Linked DNA regions of Homo sapiens: all the other regions are linked to region 2. The links are contacts of gene promoters, found by promoter capture Hi-C in blood cells and fetal thymus (Javierre and others, 2016). All regions are on one chromosome and are shown on one strand. Each heading gives the region's core, a stretch centred on a gene start or on the middle of the fragment in contact. The rest is flanking DNA. Distances are from core to core; before and after follow the strand shown.

What was found. Contacts are between HindIII fragments. The CHiCAGO score rates a contact against its expected background, and 5 or more counts as called.
Region 1: a fragment that was not itself captured here is called in contact with the fragment with the promoter of ERLIN2 in region 2 in 3 of 17 cell types (M0 macrophages, M2 macrophages and M1 macrophages); the score reaches 5.7 in M0 macrophages.
Region 3: a fragment that was not itself captured here is called in contact with the fragment with the promoter of ERLIN2 in region 2 in 2 of 17 cell types (naive CD4 T cells and non-activated CD4 T cells); the score reaches 5.5 in naive CD4 T cells.
Region 4: a fragment that was not itself captured here is called in contact with the fragment with the promoter of ERLIN2 in region 2 in 1 of 17 cell types (M2 macrophages); the score reaches 6.2 in M2 macrophages.
Region 5: a contact is called between a fragment that was not itself captured here and the fragment with the promoter of ERLIN2 in region 2, in 1 of 17 cell types (neutrophils). The highest score is 5.7, in neutrophils.
Region 6: a contact is called between a fragment that was not itself captured here and the fragment with the promoter of ERLIN2 in region 2, in 3 of 17 cell types (activated CD4 T cells, neutrophils and total B cells). The highest score is 5.9, in activated CD4 T cells.
Region 7: a contact is called between a fragment that was not itself captured here and the fragment with the promoter of ERLIN2 in region 2, in 2 of 17 cell types (M2 macrophages and M0 macrophages). The highest score is 5.3, in M2 macrophages.

What each region holds. Positions count from the first base shown.
Region 1 is chr8:37,334,814-37,337,513 of GRCh38, reverse strand. No RefSeq gene overlaps it. Among named protein-coding and RNA genes, the nearest start is that of LINC01605, 260 kb to the left of the region's middle. The HindIII fragment of the contact is 1,949 bases long and covers 400-2,348 here.
Region 2 is chr8:37,735,298-37,737,997 of GRCh38, reverse strand. It overlaps ERLIN2 (ER lipid raft associated 2), which reads right to left and starts at 1,364. Exons shown (of 12, transcript NM_007175.8): 1 at 1,320-1,364; 2 at 1-90. The coding sequence starts at 75. LOC102723701 (a long non-coding RNA gene) reads left to right here and starts at 572. Exons shown (of 2, transcript NR_125821.1): 1 at 572-619; 2 at 1,200-2,700. RefSeq lists enhancers at 10-802, 1,282-1,491. The HindIII fragment of the contact is 8,102 bases long and covers 1-2,700 here.
Region 3 is chr8:37,269,982-37,272,681 of GRCh38, reverse strand. No RefSeq gene overlaps it. Among named protein-coding and RNA genes, the nearest start is that of LINC01605, 330 kb to the left of the region's middle. The HindIII fragment of the contact is 2,043 bases long and covers 257-2,299 here.
Region 4 is chr8:37,314,897-37,317,596 of GRCh38, reverse strand. No RefSeq gene overlaps it. Among named protein-coding and RNA genes, the nearest start is that of LINC01605, 280 kb to the left of the region's middle. The HindIII fragment of the contact is 3,626 bases long and covers 1-2,700 here.
Region 5 is chr8:38,187,771-38,190,470 of GRCh38, reverse strand. The region is part of intron 1 of BAG4 (BAG cochaperone 4); the gene reads right to left. Among named protein-coding and RNA genes, the nearest start is that of BAG4, 12 kb to the right of the region's middle. The HindIII fragment of the contact is 4,700 bases long and covers 1-2,700 here.
Region 6 is chr8:38,168,065-38,170,764 of GRCh38, reverse strand. It overlaps LSM1 (LSM1 homolog, mRNA degradation associated), which reads left to right. Exons shown (of 4, transcript NM_014462.3): 3 at 848-963. Among named protein-coding and RNA genes, the nearest start is that of LSM1, 7.1 kb to the left of the region's middle. The HindIII fragment of the contact is 199 bases long and covers 1,187-1,385 here.
Region 7 is chr8:37,229,426-37,232,125 of GRCh38, reverse strand. No RefSeq gene overlaps it. Among named protein-coding and RNA genes, the nearest start is that of LINC01605, 370 kb to the left of the region's middle. The HindIII fragment of the contact is 2,690 bases long and covers 1-2,659 here.

The sequences.
Region 1 (2,700 bases), core at 125-2,624, 400 kb after region 2:
ATTATACCAACGGCAAGACTTTCAACCTTCTCTTGGTCTTAATCTTTCTGAGTGTGTCTCCCTTCATTGTCTCTTCTAATAAATAAATTAGAAAATATGTCTAGAAAACAGTTATGGAAAATATGTCTAGAAAATAATATTAGAAAATAATAATAGACATACTACAAAATATAATAGAAATGTCTTGAAAATAATATTAGAAAATGACAATGAACATTTTTATCTATTGTGATGTAATAAGTTACCCCAAAACTTAGTGACTTAAAACAAATCACATTTATTATCTCATAGTTTCTGTGAGTCAGGAACCTGGCCATCACTTAGCCGGGCTCTCTGCTTCTGGGTTGGCCGTGAGGCTGTAGTCAAGGTGATGGCTGGGCCTGCAGTCATCTCCAAGCTTAACTGGGGGTGGATTGACTTCCAAGCTCATCAAGAGGTTATTGGCAGGGTTCAGTCCCTGTGGACCTCAGTTTCTCAGTGGCTGCAGGCTGGAGGCTGCCCTCCTTGCTATGTGAGCTTCTCAGTAGGGCAGCTCACCACATGGTGGCTTGCTTCATCAAAGAGAGAGAGAGAGAGAGAGAGCAAGTGAATATGAGACAGAACTCACAGCCTTTTGTAATCTAATCTCTGAAGAGACAACCCATCACTTTTGCTGTATTCTGTTCATTAGAAGTGAGTCACTAGATCCATATCACACTCAAGGGGGAGAGATTTTACAAGGAAGTGCATACCAGGAGGTGAAGATCAGTAGGCGTCCTCTTAGAAGTCTGCCTACCACAGGCCTCCTTTGTAGAGAAGCCTTCAGGGCCAGACCTGATCTCTAATAACTTCATTTGCTGGTTTCTATTTTGAAATTGGTAGTCCTACTTAGAACTTTGTGATAGCAGTTGTGAGGGTGTTATCTCAATAAAGCCTCTAGCCAACTGGCTTTACAATGGAGCAACTGGAATGAAATCTCAGTAATACATCAGTAATGTCCAAGATTGGCTAGAATGAATGAAAATGGGTATGCGTCAGCATTGGGTAAACCTTCAATTCCTTTTTCTTTCCTTAACTCAATTTGCTCTGATGATATACAAAACCATAGGCCAAACTTTTTAAAAACAGCGACAGGGAATTTCTTGTCCCTGTACCACTACCCCCTGCAAAGGTAGGTAGTCTGAATCCAGGAGCATGGGTACTGATGCCAGCTCTTGGGTCTCAGGTGGTGGTGACTGCAGACAGAGAAGACATGCTCTGATCAGCTTGGCCCAGCAGATATTCCCATGGGGACAAGTCCAGCGTGCCTTGAAATAAGAGCCTGTTGCAGGCCAGGAGTGTGGGGTCCCACACACCCTGATGCACACCATCAATTTGGAAAGTCCTTTTTATTTTCATTCTTTTAAATGCTTCTGTTGGCTGTTTGTTTTATGAGGAGTTAGTTTCATTAGTGCTACTGAGTCCATGTGTTCACCCACCACACTCGAGCCTTGCATTGATATCACTCTTTCCCCTCAATGTACCAGGCCCTGCAGAGAACACGTGAAGTCCTCACGGCCTGTCCTGACTGGCATGGGACTAGCAAGTTCGTGAAGACTTCCCTGTGTCCGTGTCTCTCTCTTATTTAAAAGCCACGATGTCTCCCTGTGTGTCTGCAGGAGATGCCAAGGTCTTCACAGTCCGGCCCTAGTCTGCCTCTCTGAGACTCTCCAGCTGCCTGGCTGGACCTTCTGTCTACACAACAGCTAGAATCCCATGCCATCTGAAGGTGTTGAAACAAATCATGCACTTCCCAGGCTTTGTTGCTTTGTTCACACTTTCCCTTTACTTTGGAACAAATGTCCTCCCTCCCTGATGCCCTCTGCACATCTCTGCCTAGCCATCACTGGTGCATCTGCCAAGGCCCAGCTCAAATGTCCACACTCCTTTGGAGCCTCCTGACCTCCTCCTCACTTTAGGTGGAACACACGTGTCTATAGCAGCTGTCATGGGTGCTGCACCCGAGTCCCTGTGGCATTTACAATGTTTGCACTGGCAGTGTGACTTCTAACGGCCAGCACCAGCTACTCTACCTGAAGGCTTTCTCTGTCTGCTCACTCTGCCCTTGCATGGGACAGGTTGAAAATGTTGTGGGTTACCTCCCTAGGAGACCCCTCTACCAATGACTGTTGGTTCCCCACCCCTGGACAGGATATTTCTGAGGCAAGATAGCCCAGAGAGGTCTCCCGTGGAGCTGAGCTCCCCCATCTGGTGTAGCAACTGGTGACAATGAACCCTGCCTGGCTTCCTTCCCTCCCCTGGGTCACTTTGTCACTCCGCTATCAGTGGTTTTTCAGTTTACTTCGAATGATCTATTTGTACCTGAAGCTTTGCTTTGGAGTCTGTTTCTGGGGAACACACACTGAAAACAGAGCCCCTCCTCCGTGCTTACGCTCACTGTACACATTTATTACAGCCCTTACATTGCACTTGTGGGTATCCAGCATCGGGCTCCTGCACAGTGACCTCCTTGAGGGCAGAAACTCTGCCTCTCCAAGGCCTGGTGCAGTGCTGGGCATACATCCGGTGCCCATACTTTTGTTGAGTTGATTCTCTTGTGCTCATTTCCCTAATTAAAGGTTTTTTTTTTTTTTTTGTAAGTTTTCATGGGGGCTGGTTAGAGCTTAGGACCTCATCTTGCACTAAAGAATGAGGTGATCCAACCGTCTTGGCAACCACTGC
Region 2 (2,700 bases), core at 115-2,614:
CTTGTGCACAGCTGAGAAGAGAGATGCACAAAAGAAACTGGAAGCCACAGCCACAACTGCTCCCAACTGAGCCATCAGTGAGCCTTTATCCTAGGGAAAAGACACGGGAAAATGTGTGTGGTCCAACGTGCAGGAGAAAAGGCCACAACAGCGAGAGGACCTCACCAAGCTGAGCTCCCTGCGAGTGACTCATATCCAGCCTGGTGTCGTGTGAACACAAGGCTAGATCTACAACTCGCTTCCTCCTCGTTCTCAGTCAACGTTCCCCTTTCTTTAACTGTAAAATTAGAGCCCCCACCGCACTGAGGAAGCACTGGCTCCGGATACAGCCGTTGCTCAAGGGAGAACCCGTGCCAGCTGGGTAGGGTTCAGAACACAGCCTTGTCTTCCTGTGAACACGAATGTGCTGTCACTGAACCTTTCCTACCAGTAGTAGGGAAGAGAGGCAGCTGCAGTACTTTGGCCCAAATTACAGAGGATGCCAAATGACAGGCAGTTGTGGCTATGTAATTCTGGTCAGAGTCTCCCACTCCTAATTGCCTGCAGTTTCAAAGGAAACCATTATTTACTCCTTTCAGATGCTGGAGTGGCAGAGCCAGCAGGCGAGCAGAGTTTCAAGGTAGGATTCGTTGGCCTCGCATCCACCTTCCCAGTTATTCCTTTGGCCCTAAACAGGACAGGGCTCTGAACAAGCCTGAAGCCACACTCCCCCCCATATACTTTGGCACTTTGCACCTGACAGATCCCCAAGCCCGTGGTCAGAGAGAAAGGCAATGTCCCAAACTGCGAGCCTCTAGGCTCCTAGGTCCAACCGCGTTCAGGCACCAGGACGCGGAGGAGTGGGATCCTGAACGCTGAATGATCTGGAACTATGGTGACTGACTGCAAAGTTCAGCTGTGCGTGCGTGGGCCCGTGAGCGCAGGGCGTGGATTCTGCCTCCCAGGTCTAACGTAACCGGGGCGCGGACATCTGCGAGGCGCTTATTTTACCGTGGCGGCCTCCGGCTACCGATCTGCAGTTGCGTCCTTTCCTGCCAGTGCCCTTCCCTCCCCGAGGTCACTCGCGCCCCTTCCCCGCCCCGTTCCGAGAGAGGGTCAAGCGCCCTGGTCTGGGGCTGCGGCTCCAATAGCCTCCGCTCGGTCCCCCTGCGGCTCGCAAGGAGAGGACGCGACAGAAAAGGGTTTCTGTCTCTCTCCAGGAGCGGGCCGGCTGAGGGAGAGAAGCTGCTGGGACTGAGGTTCCCGAAAGTGACGGGTCAGCCCCGACCCTGAGCGGCAGCTAGGCCCAGCGCGCGCACGAAGGGGCGGGGGCCGCGTACCAGGCTGTCCCTGCAGGCGCTCCGTACTCGTCCGAGCCCACGAGCAAGAAAACCGTCACACCCCTCAGCACGCGACTTCCTTCCGGGCCGTCGCTTCGATGACGCCATCAATTCACGCGAGAAGACCACACCCCCGCCCCGCGCTCGCTCTGCGCCCCGCCCCTCGCGCTCCCAGCGGTCAATGGCCGTAGCTGGCCGCCAGGGATCGCCCGCGACTTGGTCGGTGCGGTCCTGGACCTCGGTCTTGGGTATCCGTCCTGGGGCTGGGGATGAGGGCGGTGTTGGTGGGAGCTCCCCGAGAGCGAGCGGCAGGACGCGCATGCCCCGGAGTACTGAGACCCAGGGCGAACCTTTCCAAGGCGTTGACTTTGGGGATTGCTCCGGATTTCCTTCTGCATTAGGCCGAACCTGGTTCGTTTTGGTTTTTTTAGAGACAAGGTCTCGCTCTTTTGCCCAGGCTGGAGTGCAGTGGCACGATCATAGCTCACTACAGCCTCGAACTCCTGGGCTTAAGCGATCCTCCCACCTCACCCTGCTGAGTAGCTGGGACCACAGGCGCACGCCACGACACTTGACAATTTTATTTTTAGTAAAGACAGGGTCTTGGTATTTCTGGTCTCAAACTCTGGCTTCAAGCAATCCTCCTGCCTCGGCCTCCCAAACTGCTGGGATTACAGGCATGAGCCACCATGCGCGGCCTTTTTTTTTTTCTCTCCTTGATAAGGTACTGGCGAGTTGCAACTGTTTGCTTTCCTATAGCACAGCTGAAATGAAACAGTCTTTTCAATGTACAGATTAGCATCATTACCTCACCAATCAAAAATCCCTACCTTGAGTTGTTCTTTATATTTTTCTGGGAGCTTTGGCCCTTGGGATCCTGCAACGCCACAAAGTATATTAACAAGGAATTATTATTCTAATTTTAATGAACGGAATCTAAGAAGTTCAGCGAGGTTCAAGGGTAAAAGCCAAGGAAAGTTTCCTTTGTGTTTCCTTAATATCTTGAGTTCACTGCTTTTTAAACTCCTGCCACAGTGCACAGGGGCTAGTGCACTTCGTCTTTCTAGATAAACTGTACGTTCCCGGGAGAGCAGAGACTGACTTTCCTTCCGCACCCCCGGGGCTTAGGTGCCCAGTAAAAACAGACTGAAGGCAACGTGGGACCAGGCCCGGAATCCAGAGTTTGTGTCTCCTAGTCTAAGGGCCTCACGTTGTCCTCCACCTGCCCTATTCACCAGCATCACATTGGGGCATTTCTAATTCAGCCACTGAGGTTATTAATATTTTGTTTGCAGGAGAGAAAGAGTCCACTTAATTATAGCCTTCAGTAAAAGAAAAACTTTTACACCGGGAAGATGGCAAGCTGGTGGTGTTAGACAGA
Region 3 (2,700 bases), core at 29-2,528, 470 kb after region 2:
TTGAATATCTATTATCTATCATTCTATCATCTATCTATCTATCTATCTATCTATCTATCTATCTATCTATCATTTACCTATCATCTGTCTATTTATCATCTATGCTTGACACTGGTGTTTATTACTTTCTTTATACTTGCCTATACTTTCCAAAATTTACAATGAATGTAAAAGTGTATTTTTTTATTACCAGAAAAACTCAATTTATGTATTGTTGCCTGTTTCTATGGTAGAAAGAGGAAGGCAAGACCAAGCTTGAAGGAGAAAATGTGGCATTTGTAGTTCAACAATCCAAGAAGGGAGTAAGACCAAACAGAACCTTCCAGGTGTCATTGCTTCCTGGGTCTCCCTTTAAGCCTGTAGAGGAAGGTGAGCAAGAGAAGAGACAAACATGGGGCAGTGACTTTTCAGAAAGACTCCATGAAGAGGTGATGGAGAAGCCAGGTGGGGAAGTGAGGAGGGACAAGTTCTCACTGGCATTTTGGGTGATGGCCTGGCAAGATGGAGGGCTAAAAGAAGGCCTGGTAGGAAGCCCACAACAGGTTGGGGATGCTTGTTATGCAGTTCTGCCTTTTAATAACCGGCACTTGTATCCTATGATTTAACTTCTAACTTGAATTGAACTTCACTGAGATTTCAATGTAACCATTCCCGCTTGAGCTGTGAAGGTCAGTACAACTTGCCCTGGAATGCCTTTGGCCTTCTTGCTGCCAATACAATCCCATCATACCTCCAAGGTGCAGGCTTGACCTCGCTTCCTCCAAACACCAGCCCTCTTTCTCTTCTGAACACCTGTAGCACTTGCCCCTTAGCTGCACCCCTCACATACCACCTCTGACTGCACAGATAGACAGAATAGACCTAGCTCTCAATTTATTTGCTACCTTCATGGAGATGTATCTGATACACCCTGTTAACTACATCATAAGGCTTGGGAGAGCTGCCACTCTGTCTTGTACTGTACCTCTTTGTGCTTTCATACAGGCCCTCTCGAGCAACGGAGTCTCAAAACCAGAAGGCTGTTTCAAGGTGATTCCTACATACCTTGCATTTGATAGGCTGTGAAACAGTCAGAGAAAGAATTGGACTTGTCCAGAGTCCCCTCATGATAAATGAGAAGCAATTCACTCATTCAACGAATACTTAGTGAGCCCATGTCTTCTGTCTTCAAGATCAGGGCACTCAGTAAACACTTGTTTGTTTGTTGATTGAATGGATGATATATTGACTACATCCCTAAAGTGGAACTCTAGATTTAACTGTAATAAATGTTTTTAGCACCGATTCTTTGCCAGACACCATATATGCATCACCATGTCTTTATTTCTCACATCCATCCTATGACACAGCTTTAATCCTTTATTTTTATAGATGAGAAGACTAACTGAGGGGAATTAACAACTTGAGTATGACTGCACAGATAGACAGAATAGACCTAGCTCTCAAATTCATTCATTGCTCTTGCCCCTACCCTAAATCTCAGACAGCTCCTGCACTGGAAGTCAGATGTGCTGGTGGAGTCATCCAGGGCGATTCTGCTTTCAATGTCAAATACTGTCTATTTTTCAGGCATCCAGGAAAGCTGTGGCCCAAATTATCCACAACTTAATGTCCTGTTATGAGCTGACTTTAAGATCATTTTCTTCTCATACAAGGAGACCTGGCATTTTGTTTTGGGGGTAGGAAATAGGTGAGGCCTGTTTTTCTGTGGTGGCTTTGCACCTTTGGCAATTAGGTCTGCAGTATGAAAAACAACAGCAGTCAGCCTGTGCTGGGAGAGAGAAAGAGAAAATTCTATCATGTCAGAATAATGAGATCTGTGATTTCAGCACTTACTGGGTCAAAGACACACACAATGTGTTATCCGTAATGCTTTTCTCCTGACATTTGGGGAAATTGCATTTATGCAGAGGACACGGGACGCTGGAACGTGGCACTCCACGGATGCCACTCAGAGTTGACAGACTGCAGTCTCCTTGCCAGAGGCTGGGCTTGATATCCCTCTAGGAGGAGTGAGCCACGGTCCAGTCCAGCCAGGGTGACAGTGGGGATCCTCCTGACTCCTGAGACCCTGCTATGCCCACTGCTGCTCCAGCTATAAGGAAATAGCCCAGAATCATGCACATAGAGCTTGCTGGTTAGCTCAGTGAACAGAGACACTCAGTGACTTCTTGAGCATCCTTTGCATGCAGAATGAAGTCCTTTTCCAACCCAACATCTTCTAGACCCCTTTCAGCTTCCAGTCTTTCCCAGCACACCCGATGTTTGGGACAGCCCTGGGCTTCTCTTGGAGGAAGCTTAGTTTCTGTTTCAGCCTTCTTCTTCATTCTCCAGTTCCTGCACACAGAGGCCCATGAGCACCAAAGGAGTATGGCTTGTTTCTCTGAGGCTGATTCGGAGGCAGGGAGTTTATCGCTCTCTCTTATGTGCTCCTCCATCCTTCCTCCTGTCTCGCCACTCTCTTTATCTGCAGTGGCAATGATGAAGTGATTGATTGTCCAGCCTCAGATGTCTTGTGTAGTTTTAAATTAACTCCTGGTACACAACAACAGGCAGACTGAGGGGGAGGTGCACACATGTGAACGCGCGCACACACACACACACAGAGAAAACCACAACAGGGAGAGATTCTCTTGCTTGATGATGGTGGTCAAATTCCTCTCCTGGACATAATACTTCAAAGGATTCTTCTTTCTGCTC
Region 4 (2,700 bases), core at 61-2,560, 420 kb after region 2:
TTGATTAATTTTATTAATAAAATAAATGTATAAATATATAGAATCAATAAACAATAGTAAAATAAATAATTTATTTTATTAATAATCAAATCAAATAAATTATTTATTTTATTAGTAATCAAATAAAATTATTTATTTTATTAATAATCAAATAAAATAAATTATTTATTTTATTAATAATCAAATAAAATTATTTATTTTATTAATAATCAAATAATTTATTTTATTAATAATCAAATAAAACAAATAATTTATTTTATTAATAATCAAATAAAATAAATTATTTATTTTATTAATAATCAAATAAAATAAATTATTTATTTTATTAATAATCAAATAAAATAAATTATTTTATTAATAATCAAATAAAATAAATAATTTCTATTAATAATCAAATAAAATAATTTCTTTTATTAATAATCTAATAAAATAAATTTATTAAAGTTCAAAAATTTAATACAATAAAATAAATTATTTTATTAAAGGTAATGGCAAAATCTGCAATTACTTTTGCACCATCCTAATACCTAGTTTACATAGGAAGAAATGACAACTCAGAGAGGTTTAGTTTCTTGTCTAAGCACGTGGGACTTGTCAACAGCAGAACTGAAATCTGACTCCAGATTTGTCCAACCACAAATCCCACATTTCCCACTATATCCAGAAAGGACCCCAAAGGTTGAGTCTGAGCAACTTAACCTGTTCTGATTTTTCAGAAGCCTACAACAGCCATCGGTGGGGATTGGATAGGAAATGCTGGCCGTGGGGTCTTTTGCATCAGGAAAGTCCAGATCTTCTGAGAGGAAGAAGTGGGAGATGATGGGCTAATTGGAGGCTGTGCTTTGGTTTGACTCCCACTCCTGGCCCACATCTGGCTGGTGGAGTTCCCGGGCCTGGACTCTTGGTGCTTAGGCCTACTGTCTTCCCATTTCTTTATGTTGACCTTCAAGTTTGCTGAATAAAATGAGGCACACTTGTCATTAAGTACTTTCCATACATGGCGTGCTCAGAGTGGAATGACCTGGCAGTCCTTGTCTGTTTCCTTCATTGATGTTTATCCTCCAGTTCAGGGCTGTCCAATAGAAATATAATGCAGGCCCCATGTGCAGTTTTAAATTATTTAGGAGCCACATTATAAAAAAGTAAAAATAAAGAAGTGAAATTACTCTGAATAACAAATTTTATTTAACCTGATATATTTAAAATACAAGCAATATGAAAAAAGTAATATAAAAATCAATGAGATATTTTACATTTTTTTTGTGCATAGTATTCAAAATCCAGTGTGCATTTTCCACTTATCGTGTGCCTCATTTCTGACTAGCCACATTGCAAATGCTCCCTGGTCACATGTGCCCAGCGGCTAAGCTCTTTTGAAAGCACAGTAGCTGATCCAGTTACAGGTTCTTCCCCTTGGAGTGGATGTTTCTGATTCCTCTTGACTCAGGAGGGAAGAGCTGAAGGAGCAGACAGGTGTGTCCTCTTGAGCTACTATCCACTTTCCCTGCTGGTCACCATGTATTTCTGGTAGCAAGCATCATGGGGCTGATCCCAACCTTCCCCAGCAAAGAGGAGCTGCAGGGGAGAGAATCTGGGTCTATGTCAACGACTCGTGGCCCTAAGTGTAGGAAGCACTTCCTGGGGGGACTGCAAACTGTGGCCCATGAAAAATGCATCTCTTCCTATTGTGCATTTCTGTTTATACAAAGTTTGACGAAGTTTCTATAATCAGTAAAGGCAATCTCAGCCCTAGGAAACCTGTGCAGCTGGTGAGGTTTGATTTCAATGTTCCCATTTTCCCACTGAGCTTGATTCTCTCCTTTATCCTCAAGGGGCACAGACCCCAGTCCAGTGGGAGGCCCAGCTCCACCATGCTTCGCCACCTGAGGAAATAGAACTTTCTTCTTTATAGCTGCTGTGCTCAGCTAGACACAGAATGTATGCAGAGTCTCCCACTGTTCTTATGTCCAGTTCTTCACTGAGTTTGGCTTGAGACTTTTGGGGAAACAAACCTTTGTTAGGTGATATGGCTTGGCTCTGTGTCCCCACCCAAATCTCATCTTGAATTGTAATCCCCACATGTGGAGGGAGGGACTTGTAATCCCCACGTGTCAAAGAAGGGAGATGATTGGATCACAGGGTTGGTTTTCCCCATGCTGTTCTCATGATAGTGACTGAGCTGTCACGAGATCTGATGGTTTTATAAGGAGCTCTTTCCCCTTCACTTTCTCCTGTGTCTCCTACCGTCATGTAAGACATAACTGCTTCCCTTTCTGTCATGATTTTAAGTTTCTTGAGGCCTTCCCAGCCATGCAGAACTGAGTCAATGAAACCTCTTTCCTTTATAAATTACCCAGTCTCGAGTAGTATCTTTTTTTTTTATTTTTTATTTTTATTTATTTATTTATTTGCAGACAAGGTCTCACTCTGTCTCCCAGGCTGGAGTGCAGTGGTGCGATCTCAGCTCTCTGCAACCTCCGCCTCGCAGGTTCAAGTGATTCTTGTGGCTTAGCTTCCCGTGTAGCTGGGATTAAAGATGCCCACAACAACACCTGGCTAATTTTTGCATTTTTAGTAGAGACGGGGTTTCACCTTGTTGGCCAGGCTGGTCTCAAACTCCTGACCTCAGGTGATCCGGCCGCCTCGGCCTCCCAAAGTCCTGGGATTACAGGTGTGAGCCACTGCACCTGGTCATCGGGT
Region 5 (2,700 bases), core at 114-2,613, 450 kb before region 2:
CAGCCTGGGCAACAGAGTAAGACCCCATCTTTAAAAAGAAAAAACCTACTGACTTGATAACCACACACAGAATATAATTCAAATAATTCTTGAACAGTTTTCTGAATGGACATCTTTAGTGGTACCTTTCTAAAAGCAAAAGAAATTTAAAAATATCTTAAACTCTTCATATAATGTTATTAGTAGTGATATTACTATCTTAATTTTTAAACTATATTGTGTGTATTGTAGAATAGAATAAATACATACAGTAGTGTTATTGGGAACCGATATTGTCACGAGGACAAGGAAAGATAAAATATGGAATGGGGCAAAATGAGGAAGAACTGGGGGATAGTGAATGTGGTGGTGTCATTACAAACTCACATAAGTAAAAAACATAATTTGGCTGGGTGCAGCGGCTCACACCTGTAATCCCAGCACTTTGGGAGGCCAAGGCAGGTGGATCACGAGGTCAGGAGATAGAGACCATCCTAGCTAACACGGTGAAACCCCATCTCTACTAAAAATACAAAAAATTAGCCAGGTGTGGTGGCGGGCGCCTGTAGTCCCAGCTACCTGGGAGGCGGAGCTTGCAGCAAGCCTAGATCACGCCACTGCACTCCAGCCTGGGCAACAGAGGGAGACTCCGTCTCAAAACAACAACAACAACAACAAAACGTAATTTAACCTTTTATGCAAAACAAACAAATATGGATAAAAGTGACAGTGTGCCAGTCCACACAAAGGATTTAGGAGTCGCTGCAAATTCTAGCAACCCTCTTGTGTTCCCATGCCCTCCACAAGACCTACATTATCTTATATGGGAGCTGTGTTTTCAACTGAAGTCCCAGGATGAGAAGACACACAGGTAGACCTGAACTGAACCTGGGGCCTAGAGAAGAACCACTAGAGTGGACTCACAGAACCTGAGCAAGAAATAAATGTTTATCATTATAAGCTACTAAAATTCTGGAATTGTTGTTTCAGTATAGGAAAAGTCAATTAATGCAATAACTAACAATCAAGTTGGTAACATAACCACAGAGAAAAAAGAATTACTTCAAATGACTTTTAGCTCACGTTATTTTGACTGTACGTCCTCAGTGGAATTTATTCTCTAAGGACAAGCTGAACTGCAAAGAAACCGAAACTGCATCCATTAGTTGTTACTCATAAAACTGGTATTCTTATTTTCAAGTTTTACTCACTACCATCCAATTCACCTATTTAAAGTATATAATTCAGGCCTGGCATGGTGGCTTACGTCTGTAATCCCAACACTTTGGGAGGCCGAGGTGGGTGGGTCACTTGAGGTCAGGAGTTCAAGACCGGCCGGGCCCACATGGTGAAACCTCGTCTCTAATAAAATACAAAAATGAGCTGGGTGTGGTGGCGGGCAGCTACTCAGGAGGCTGAGGCACGAGAATTGCTTGAACCCAGGAAGCAGAGGTGTAGTGAACTGAGATTGCACCACTGCACTCCAGCCTGGGCAACAGGGTGAGACTCCATCTCAAAAAAAAAAAAAAAATTAGCCGGGCATGGTGGCACACACCCGTAGTCCTAGCTACTTGGGAGGTTGAGGCAGGAAAATTGCTTGAACCTGGGAGGCGGAGGTTGCAGTGAGCCAAGATCGTGCCACTGCACTCCAGCCTGGGTGACAGAGCAAGGCTCCATCTCAAAGATAAACAAATAAATAAATAAAAAGTAAATAAAAAGCTGATATTAAAGTAGCCACTCCAGCTTTCTCATAGTTGCCTTTTGCATATTTTTATATATATATACATATATATGTATACATGTATATATGTATACATGTATATGTATACATGTATATATGTATACATGTATATATGTATATATATGTGTACATGTATATATATGTATACATGCATATATATATGTGTATACACGTATATATATGTATTTATATGTGCATATATGTAATTTTTAATTAATAAAAGTAGTACATATTTTTGGGATACATGTGATATTTTGATACATGTATATAAAGTGTAATGATCAAAACAGGGTAACTGGCATATCTGACACCTCAAACATTTATCTTTTCTTTATTGCATTATATTTCTTTTTCCATCCATTTACTTTCAAACTATTTGTATCTTTAAACCTTAAGTGTGCCACCTTTAGACACCATATAATTGGATCTTGTTTTTTTTTTAATCCAGTCTGTCTTCTGACTAGATTGCTTAATCCATGCACATTTAATATTATTGATATAGCTGGATTTACATGTTTTATTTTTACTTTTTGTTTTTTATATGTCTCATGTGTTTTTGTCCTTTATTCCACCTTTACTGCTTTCTTTTGCATTAAGTGAATATTTTCAAATGTAGCATTATAACTTAATGATTATACTTTTTTTTTCTTTAGCAGTTACTCTTGGGCTAACAATACACTTCTTCTTCTTCCTTTTTTTTTTTTTTTTTTTTTTGAGACGGAGTCTCACTCTATCACCCAGGCTGGAGTGCAGTGGCACGATCTCGGCTCACTGCAAGCTCCGCCTCCCGGGTTCATGCCATTCTCCTGCCTCAGCCTCCCAAGTAGCTGGGACTACAGGCGCCCGCCACCACGCCCGGCTAATTTTTTTTTTTTTTTTTTTTTGTATTTTTAGTACAGACAAGGTTTCACCATGTTAGCCAGAATGGTCTCGATCTCCTGACCTTGTGATCTGCCCACCTTGGCCTCCCAAATTGCTGG
Region 6 (2,700 bases), core at 37-2,536, 430 kb before region 2:
TGACTTTTAGATTACAAATATAGTTATCTGTCAAGGTGAAAAAATAGGTTTTTGCTGTATCATAACCCATGGATACCTGCGTTGGGTCAAATGAATCCTAATTACTAAAAGAAAGTTGAATCTTCAGCAGATCATCACATACACACCCACACAAAAAGAAAAGCTGTTTCTTTCCAGAAAACAAAAGTTTTGATCTCTGTGGTTGTTTAGGCCCAAGTTTTCCAAGTTCCTTATTCATTTATATTTTCCTATGGTTTTTTTTGGTATTAGCAATTAACTGATAAAGGAATTTATTTCTCTTATTTCTGCTGTCATTCATGTATTAGCCCAACATAATCCCAGACATCTCCTAACTGGTACGTCTTACTCAATGAAATAGGAGAAGATTATTTGAAATTTTAGCCTTCCCCAGAATTAGAAAGCTTGGGGGCCCGGCACTGTGGCTCACGCCTGTAATCCCAGCACTTTGGAAGGCCGAGGTGGGCGGATCACAAGGCCAGGAGTTCAAGACCAGCCTGGCCAATGTGGTGATCCCTGTCTCTGCTAAAAATACAGAATTAGCCGGGAGTGGTGGCAGGCACCTGTAGTCCCAGCTACTCCGGAATCTGAGGCAGGAGAATTGCTTGAACCAGTAGGCAGAGGTTGCAGTGAGCTGAGATGGCGCCACTGCAGTCCAGCCTGGGTGACAGAGCGAGACTCGGTCTCAAAAAATAAATAAATAAAAATAATTAGAAAGCTTGGAAATCATGTTTACCTAAATCTTTTCAAAATAACTGATTATTGAGTTATGGGCCTTTACCCAGTAGTTTAAACTAAATATCTTTGGTTTTTCCCTATACACTTACAGCAAACTTAGTGCTACATCAGACTGTGGAGCGTATTCATGTGGGCAAAAAATACGGTGATATTCCTCGAGGGATTTTTGTGGTCAGAGGAGAAAATGTGGTCCTACTAGGAGAAATAGTAAGTGAAAACTATTAAGCTGCTGTAGATCTTCATATTCATGCTAGTTAGACTTCTTTTTTTGTCTTTTCAAAAGAGAATAAAAATATTCTCCACATTTATCTGGCTTCTCCTAGGCAACTACCAAATTAATTTAGGGAAGCTACAGAGAATACTTTGTTTCAGTGCCTTAACAAATGTGTTCATTAATATATTTGTTTAATAGCAGAAAATTGACAAAGCTTGATTTATATATGCTGGGGAAGGTGTGTCTTACATACGTTGGAATATTTTGCAGTCATTTAAACAATTGGTTACAAGTGGTTTTTCATGGCATAAAGCTAATGCACAGTATTTCAGGGAAGTACATATTGCCTGTACAGTACAATGTGATATCCATATTAGTAAAGGGGGAAAGGGAAAGAGTAGCTATAGGAAAAGCTTTTCCGTTACCTATCCCGAGAATGGAGTTCAGTCTTACTTGGATCCTTAGCTCACAGCCAGGGAGAGGGTATTTTGGTATCTGTGCCAGAAAGACCAGCTGGCAGGTGAAAGGTTAAATCAGATTTTCTGAGGTATTGTTGCTGTAGGTCTTCGTGTGTGCAGACATACACACACACACCCCTACTAGAAGTACTCAGATTTTTTTTTAAAGTATCTTATTTAAAACCTTTGATTTCATCTTGTTATTTCTGATTATTGGGTTTGCAAGGAAAATAAAAATCTCTTCAAGAGTAGTTGAAATTAAGGGTTGAGCCAGCACTGTCTTCTTTTTTCTTACCAAAAACTTTGGTGTTTGCTTAATTTTTAAAGTTTTTAATACTGTTTTCTAAATACCTAGCCATGTCTTAAATCAGTTTGCAGAAATCTTTAGAGTGGTTTGGTTTGTAGCCATTTTTAACAGCCATTTGAGAAAGCAAGGAGATAATTCTGCTAGGGTTGGGTTGGTTCAGAGACCTCATATTGGAAATAGCTAGAAATGACTAATCCAGACTATCAATACTGCCCAAGTGAAATATATGAAGTATATGAAATATATGAATATATGAAATATATGCTGTGAAATATATGAAATAGCTTTTTCTTACTTATAAAATATTTATAAGTAATACTTATAAAAATTTTTCTTATAAAATATTTTTGTAGTTTGTACTTTTAGTTCAGTGTATCATTTCTTGCATGTTTAAGCAGCAGAAATTGTTTTTTGTTTTTTGGGTTTTTTTTTTTTTTTGGGACAGAGTTTTGCTCCTGTTGCCCAGGCTGGAGTGCAATGGCATGATCTCAGCTCACTGCAACTTCCGCCTCCCAGGTTCAAGTGATTCTCCTGCCTCAGCCTCCCGAGTAGCTGGGATTACAGGTGCCCGCAACCAAGCCCAGCTAATTTTTGTATTTTTAGTAGAGACGGGGTTTCACTATGTTGGCCAGGCTGGTCTCGAACTCCTGACCTCAGGCGATCTACCCGCCTCGGCCTCCCAGTGTGCTGGGATTACAGGCATGAGCCACCGCGCCCAGCCAAGCAGCAGAAATTGTTATCTTCTTGTGTCGCATAAAGGCTGAAACAAGGCCAGGTGCGGTGCCTCACGCCTGTAATCCCAGCACTTCGGGAGGCTGAGGCGGGCGGATCACAAGGTCAGGAGATCGAGACCATCCTGGCTAACACAGTGAAACCCCATCCCTATTAAAATACAAAAAAGTTAGCCGGGTGTGGTGGCGGGCGCCTGTAGTCCCAGCTACTTGGGAGGCTGAGGTAGGAGAATG
Region 7 (2,700 bases), core at 65-2,564, 510 kb after region 2:
GGGAATAAAACAGAACCATGACCAAAAATCAGAACACCCAAAACGAAGTGTATTTTCTGGGAATCAATGACTCTTTAGCCTGCGGCAGGCCATTTCATGCTAAATGAGACTCTGTTTCCCACTATGCACTAAGAAAGGGATATGAGGTTTGTGATGAAAAATGACATGCCTGCATCCAGCAATGAGTCCACAAGGCCTACATTGCTGTATCAATTGTAGAAAAACCAAGCAACACTCCCCTTCTGACCTTCCTCCCATCCCCAGCTTTTTAAAAGATGTAGTCAAATAACTCTTGGATAGAAGACTCTGCAGACTAAAATAGCCATTGTAAGTCAAATGTGCTGGGGTCTTTTTCTGTTCCCCCTTTTTTTCTTTCTTCTTTCTCTTCCTTTCCTTTTTTCTCCTTCCCTCCTTCCCTCCCTCCCTTTCTTCCTTCCTCTCTCCTTTCTCTCACCCTCCCTCCCTTCTTTCTTTCCTTTCTTCCTCCCTCTCTCCTTTCTCCTTCCCTTCCTCTCTCCCTCCCTTTCCTCCTCTCCTCTCCTCTCCTTTCTCCCCCCCACCTCCTTCCTCCCTTCCTTCCTTCTTTCCTCCTTTCTTCCCTTCCTCTCTTCCTCTCTTCTTTCCTCTCTTCCTTCCTTCCTCTCTTATTCCTTGGTCTTTCATTTTTGTTTCTTTAAATAGCTTTAGGTTTATAGAGTTGAATTAATTCTGTTTCTTAGTATGCCACTCAGCACTGTGTTTTTTATTATGTAAATTGTTATTGTAATATAATACACATAAAGAAAATTGCCCAAATTCAAAGGGCACAGCTCAGTGAATTTTCACAAAGTTAAGAAAGTTCACCAGCAACTAGATAAAGAACCAGAGTATGATCTGAACCCCAGACCACTCCTCCATCCCCTTCTAATTGGAGACTTTCGCCTGCCAACGGAAACCATGATTCTAGGTTTTAACATTATAGATTAATTTTGCCTGCTTTTGAATTCCACAGAAATAAAATTTTGCTTTTGCTATCTTTGCTATTTGACGTATCTCACTGAACATTATATTTGTGAGATTAATTCAAACTGTTTATTTATTCTCATTGCAGTGTAGTATTCAATTGTATGAATATACCAAAATGTATTTATTCATTCTATTCTTGATAAGTATGTGAGTTGTTTCTAGTTTAGGGCAATTATAATGAGTGTTGCTATGAACAATGTTACAGATTCTTGTGGTGGACACACATGTTGAGTACATACCTGGGAGTGCAATTGTTGTTAAATATCACCAAAATGTTTTCAAAGTGATACCACCAGAACTTGGCATTGTCTGTGTTGATCATTTTGGTTGATCCAGTTGTTCTCTGCAGGAGTGTGCCCTGTCCCTAACTGCTCTATTCCATCCAGAAGTGAGAGTCAACACTTTGTATTAAAAGATTTGTTTGTATTACTGTGTACCTAAAGTCCATTGCTCTTAACTGATGCACAGTATTCCACAGTAGGTATACATTCATCACTTCAGTCCAATTCCCGAACGGTGAACTCTTTAAGTTGTCCGAAATTTCCTGCTGCTTTTTACTTATATGATTAAAATGCAGAAGAACTACCGGATTTTAGGGTACATGCATTTTTACTTTTGCTAAATACTGCCATATTGTTCTCCATAATAGATGCCAGTGTTACATGTCCACCAAAAATGCACGAGGGTTTGTGTGTCTCCATATCTTTCCAACATTGATTACCCAATTTTTAAATTTTGGACATTTGGGTGGTCAAAAAGTGGTCTCTCGCTGTTATTTTAGTTTACAGTCATCTGATTGTTATCCGACACAGTTATCTGACTATCTCTGTATATGCCAGCCATTGGGAGTTCCCCTCTGTGAATTGCCTACTTAAACCCTTTTCCATTTGCATATTGGGTTCCTATATTCTAGTTGATTTGTGAAAATTGCTGGTATATTCTAGGGAATAACTTGTTTCCTAGCTTTTAACATCGAACATTTATCCTTTCCCCTCCCTATTTCTTATTTTGTCTATAACATTTTTCATGAAATAGAAATATTGCACTTGAATTCAGAAAATATTTTTACATTATGATTTGTGTGTTTGGAGCCTTATTTTAAAATAAGGCTCACCCCACATCGCAAACAATGTTCTCTTTTATTTAAAAATTATATTTGTAGTTCCATCTTTCCTATTTAGATCTTTACTTTATATAGATATTTTATTGTATCTAACAGCTTCTTTCCATGCATAGAGTGTAGTAATTTCCCAATAACATCTATTTAAAAATCCATTTTTTCCCACTGGTTTGCGGTAACATTCTCGGATATACTGTGTTTCTGTGTGCACATAAGCATTTTTTTGAACCCTTTATTGCTTCCCAGGATTCTATTGGCCTATTGTTTCTATTGTAACACATATTTTAAATGTTCTTTTTGTTATCAAAACTGACTTAGCTATCTATGAACTCTTATTTTTCTACAGAGTTTAAAAATAAGGCTATTTCTTTGACAACAGTTCTGCTGAAATATTATTTGAGGTTGCTTTGAATTTAGATTAATTTGGTTAAAACTGGTATTGTTATAATATTAATCACTCTATCCATGAAAAATGGGATGCCTTTTCCCTTTTCTCATGTTCCCAATAATCCTTTTCTTTTCCTTAACAAAGCTTATAAAGTTTTTCTTTGTAAGATCATGTACAGCTTTTGTTG